Regions from separate parts of the Homo sapiens genome. Here region 2 is linked to region 1. Evidence: promoter capture Hi-C in human tissues and cell types (Jung and others, 2019). All regions are on one chromosome and are shown on one strand. The core of a region is centred on a gene start or on the middle of the fragment in contact, and the rest is flanking DNA. Distances in the headings are between cores, read along the strand shown. Region 1 holds the start of RNF145 (ring finger protein 145). Region 2 has its middle 210 kb from the start of LINC02227.

Region 1 (2,700 bases), core at 190-2,689:
ATCACTGGGATGTGACAGGATTTATGACTATGGTGAAGTAGTCTGAGGCACCTGGATGAAAGGTGGTTATAGTGAGTTATGTACACAATTCCCACACATTTTAAACACTTGATTCCTACAGAGCTATCAAACTAATGGAAGGCAAGTTACTCAGAGTTTGGTTGACTGATACCTCCAGGGATTGCATTTTCTAAATACAGAGCTTGCTTTCACAATTTCAGCAGGATACAAGAGTGTTCAGAATTGGGGGTTTACCATTCAAAGGGCAGAGGCCAGAGACTTGAATTTACAAGGAGGGTCCTCAACACAGACATCGAGATTACAGTACATTAATTTCTCTTGCACATGAAGAAGTTGAGGCTTCACAATTTCAGCATGACCCAGTATAGTTGCAACATCTTACCCATCACTGGGTGTGTATCTTCTGTGTACACTGGCCCTTTCAACATCTAAGGCCAGGCTAGGTGCTCATAGCAACTGGCTCCCCAGGAACTAACGAAAGAGAAAGCAAGAAACAGTGGAGGGGTTTTGGTGATGGTGGAAGGCAGGGGAGATAGAAGTGGGGGTTGCAGAAGGTCGTGGTGAGGCAGAGTGGCAGACAAATGGGGAATGAGAAGTCTTGCCAAGCCCAGAAGACTATCGTTGTGTAAACACACAATATGCTTCAGGCTATGTATTCTGGGCAACAGTTCCTGCCCTAAAAGGTGTGGACATTTAAATTAGGGTAGGATTGCGCATTCTGTGATAGAGACTGGCACAGAGACAAAGTGGAACTCCTCTACGTTGGGGAGGGGAAAACATACATTAGCCTGTTTTGAACCTTAGACCAAGACAAGACAAACACACAAACACCATTTAATTTCATACTGCAATAAAATTCTTTGTACCAAACCATGGGATCAAAATTGTTACAGATACTCAGTGAACAGTTCCAATGCATTCATTCATCCAGTCACTTACTCCACAGGGGTTTGAGTGCCTGCACTTGGTGCTGGGCACGGCTGAGCCATCCCAGACGCCAAGGAGTTTACAGTCTAGTCCAGTCAGTGACGAGGTTAAAACGAATTCTCGCATCATTGCTACTGCGAATGCACCGGGACAGGATCAGCCCTTCAAATTCTCCCACGTGGTCCCTGCAGGTGAGTGTGGGTGTGAGCGCTTGCGGCCCGTGGTGTTTGGGAGTGAGAGAGCACGTGTGTCAGAATGGCGCCTGTCACAGTGCGCGTCCAGGTGTCTCTGCAGTACGCCTCTCCATAGCCACCCGAGCCGGGCTGTATGGGCTTGGCTAGGCTTATGTCTCCCGCCCACGCACCGGAGGCGGTGCGGAAAGCACTCCGCGGGCGCGATTGTGAGTGAGCGCGGGCGCGCGCGGGAGGGGCGCGCCGCGCTGGCTGGGCCGCGCGCAGGCGCAGAGTGCGGAAGTCGGGCCGCGGCCGCCGCAGAGCGCCGGGGGCGGGAGGAGCAAACGCAGGAGGCCATGGCCGCCGACGCCGGCGCCGGCTGCTAAGGGGCTCGGCCCGCGAGCGCCTGCTGCCGCGGACGATGGTGACCGTACGGGCCGGGCCGCTGCCGCTGCCGCTGCCTCCGCCTCCCCAGAAGCAACATCCGAGGCTCGGCGCAGAAGAGCCGCCGCTGTGAGCCGTGCCGTACCGGCCCCCGCCGCCGCCCGAGGAGAACGGGAGGGCGGGCGAGAGAGCCGGGGAGTTGCGGAGCCCGCCCGCCGGCAGCGCCGCTCCCCAGGGAGGGAGTCCGCAGCCTGAGGTGACCACGCCGCCCGCCCGGCCCCTTCCCATCCCCGCGCCCCCCGGCCGCTTCCCACGGCCTCCCTCCCCTCCCCCATCGCGTCGCAGGCTCCTTCCTCTTCTCCCTGTTCGCCCCTTTCCTTTTATCTCGCTTCACCTCCCTCTTCTCCCTAGCATTGGAGGAGTCCACATCCCCTCTTCAGCCGCAGCACCCCTCCCTCCCATCCTCTAGCTCTTCCCGCGGTGGTCGCCTCCCTCCGACCCTGCTCTCCCCTCCTGGGCCCCGCGCAAAGCCCCCTCTGTTCCAGCTCCCGGGCCTCGGCTGCCTCCCCGCCCTCCCATCCCTTCCTCTTCCCAGGGCCTGGAGCGCTCCCTTACATTCCTGAGATGCCCTTCCTCGGGGCTGTCCCCCTTTGCCTCCCCAGCATCCCATTTCTAGGCCTTTTTCAAGACCCTTCCAGAGCGGCCCCTTTCCAGCTCCCTTTCTCGTTTCCATTTCCAACTTTGCCTCTTTTGCCTCTTTGTTCACTTTGCTTCCAAGCTCCCCTCCCTCTTTCCCTTCGTCTTACCCTGCTTTGATCTACGCAGCCCCAAACTCAAGCTCCCCGCTTTCAGGTGGTGCGAGGTTGTTTGGGGGTGCGGAAGGGCCTGCCAGTCCATTTTTCGAGGGGGGCCCATTGCTCTGCATCCCGTCCGTCAGTCCCTTTTATAGTAAGAGGGCTCCTCATCCCTTCCTTTTTGTCCCCGTGGTTTCCTCTGTCTTGCCATCCCTTCTGTCTTCTCCCTCCAATACTGCTTTCCCCACCCAAGGACCCTCAGACCCGTGAACCCCCTTTCTGGAATGAGTTCCCTTTCTGTTCGGGGATGCTGAACTTCGCCCGCGTTTTTCTTCGCGAGCCTTTTGGTACGTGGCGTGGCGCGACAGAGTCAGCACCCTTGGCGAGATAGGAGGGGAGCT
Region 2 (2,700 bases), core at 195-2,694, 1.0 Mb after region 1:
CGACAGCTCACACTGCAGGTAGTGCAGGAAAAGATAGCAATGGGGAAAGACAGTCAGGCACATTGAAGGGGTTACTTTGCCTGGGGAACCCTTTATCTGAAGTTGTCCTCAAAAGCGAGAATGAGTTGATTTGCATTTTCCCACTGAAGCATGCAGAGTAGCTGAGGAGTGTTTCTCGTTACCAAGTACCGTCTTCTCTGGTTTGCCCTGAGGCCTTCTCTGGGGCTGGAGCAGCTCTGAAAACACCTGTACGCTGCCCATTTAAATATATGCTTCAGACAAATCTTTTAGGGGTTTCAAAAAGGGAAAAACTAATGCTTTTCCGCCCCAGCATACATTATCCTTCCTGTGAATGCTGCAGGCAGAAATTAACTCTCTCCAAGCTGGTTTATTTAGTCTGTCTTTCCATGTAAAGCCTGCATTCCATGTTAAGGGACTGGCAGTTAACAGCTTTCTCGTTCCTTTCTGCCTGCCTTCCTTTCTTCAATCATTCATTCAGTAAGTAAGTATTTACTGACATCCATTCCATGCAAAAGCACTGTGTTGTCCCCATATCTTCTCCAGAGACAACTTTGACAAGGATCCTGCTCCCAAACTGCTCACAACCTGGCTCAGGTGACAATGGGCCCAGATGTGCCCAAATGTACCCAAATGTTACCTGGGGACCTCACTGCATCTCAGGAATTGGCTCGGACAGTTTCAAGGCTTGTTTGAATCCACAGTTCTCCTCATGACATCTGCAAACTCCTGGCCTTTTTGCTCTGCTGCTACACCTGTGCCTGTTGCCTTGATCGGGCACCAGCACCTCACAACTTTGGTAACTTTGTGGAAGAACTGAGGACAGTGGAGGGCAATTGCATCTCACGCCACATAGCTGTCGGCTGTCTTGATGGCTCTCCACCTCACTCTGCTGGCTCTCAAAGCGTGGGCTCTCCAAAAGGTGACCCACCTCACTACGCACTCTTTTCCAAACAGCGTAAGCCCTGTCCGCTCTGCCTCTTCTCACCCTGCTTCTCTCACAGTGTGTACTTGCAACAGACCAGCCTCCTTCCTGGTATCCAAGAAATTTGGAAAATAAAGTTCTCTCCATCCTTTTACTCAAGTAACTATAATACAAGTGGAAAAATTACAGAAGTCATAAAAGTATGCCTGCCCCCAGGCAGGCAATTAATAAATATATTAAATAAGCATATCTGTTGAAAAGGGGATTGGAAAAGGACTATTGCGGTTCAGGGGAGGGAAAGGTAGCTTTCATAAAGAATTCAGAGAAAGAAGCTTTTCTCCAAAAAGCAGAGTGGCACATGGGCAGGCACCACCTTCCACTATCTAGACCTTCCTGATCCTTCTCTACATCTGTTTTGTTTCCTCTTTTCTCCTTTTGAACATCTGCCCACCTCTTTGTGAAAAAAAAAGAAAAACAGGAAATGAAGGGATTTTGAAGGTCTGAACTCAGGATTCAGGAATTATACAATCCTAAAAGGTCTGGTCAAGTAGAAATTTTTGAGCTCATCCACCCTAATGCTTTTGTTTCATAAAGGAGTAAACAGACCTTTCCAAGGTTGTGCAGGATGTGAGTTGGTTTTTTTCCTCTTAATTTGAATGAGTGATAAACATTTTAAAGTCAAGAAACTTTACATCAGAATCCAGAAAAAAATCAAAGATCTGCCAACACTGGGCTTGCATCCCTGCCCAGCAGCAGCGGGCTGGAATGCGGTAGCTCCATCTCCTGCATGCACAGTCCCCTTCTATCCCAGCTGCCTCACGCCCAGATGGGTTCAATCATCTCCATCATAGTCATGGCCCCTACAGGCCTTTAAACTGTAACTCCTGTGTGTTAGTCCATTTTTGCGTCACTGTAAAGGAATACCTGAGGCTGGGTAATTTATAAAGAAATGAGGCTTAATTGGTTCAAAGTTCTGCATGCTGTGCAGGAAGGATGGCACCAACATCTGCTTCTGGTGAGGCCTCAGGAAGCTTCCAATCATGGCGGAAGGCAAAGCCACAGGGCCGATGTGTCACATGGCTAGAACAGGAACAAGGGGCTGAGGGAGGTGCCACATTTTTAAACAATCAGCTCTTGCATGAACTCAGCAAGAACCCACTCATCACCAACGGGATGACGCTAAGCCTTTCATTAGTGATCTACCCATCGTGGCCCAATAGCTCCCACTGAGCTCTGCCTGCAACTACTGGGGATTACATTTCAACATGACATTTGGAGGGGACAGACATCAAAACCAAATCATCCTGCTTTGCAGCCGGTTTCCTACTCCTGGCCAAAACAAAAAAACAACCCAACAAAAGCCACATTAAACCATGTAGCACAACTAACCTCAAGCAGCTCTCTATGTTATTGGATTCTAGAAGTCCCCAAAACCAGAAATTCCCATCCCCTCCCCATCAAAAGCTAATAATAATAGTAATAAATAGCAGGCAAACAAACGAAAGCAAAAAGCCTTTCCCACTGTCTGGTACTGCCTGAAATATCACTGTATCTTGGAGAAGTACTGTGTTCCTCTAACATCTCGGATTTGAAAGAAAAGTGGTACAGTAAGAAATGGCCCCTGGCACACACCATCATCTACTTTAACATTTTGACTGAGGATCATTTTTCGTGGTAGGATCCTTCAGATATCCTCTGCAGACACACACACACACTCCAAACACAATAAAACACAACACACATCCCCCTCTCTCATT

What was found. Contacts are between HindIII fragments. The study calls those that stand out against the background at their distance.
Region 2: a contact is called between a fragment that was not itself captured here and the fragment with the promoter of RNF145 in region 1, in 1 of the 25 tissues and cell types used here (lymphoblastoid cells).

The regions. Positions count from the first base shown.
Region 1 is chr5:159,208,292-159,210,991 of GRCh38, reverse strand. RNF145 (ring finger protein 145) reads left to right here and starts at 1,439. Exons shown (of 11, transcript NM_001199383.2): 1 at 1,439-1,761. LOC107986468 (a long non-coding RNA gene) reads right to left here. Exons shown (of 2, transcript XR_001742943.2): 1 at 2,312-2,700; 2 at 840-1,133. RefSeq lists enhancers at 967-1,066, 2,654-2,700, 2,673-2,700 and silencers at 1,237-1,526, 1,567-1,756. The HindIII fragment of the contact is 14,324 bases long and covers 1-2,700 here.
Region 2 is chr5:158,196,227-158,198,926 of GRCh38, reverse strand. No RefSeq gene overlaps it. Among named protein-coding and RNA genes, the nearest start is that of LINC02227, 210 kb to the left of the region's middle. The HindIII fragment of the contact is 4,715 bases long and covers 1-2,700 here.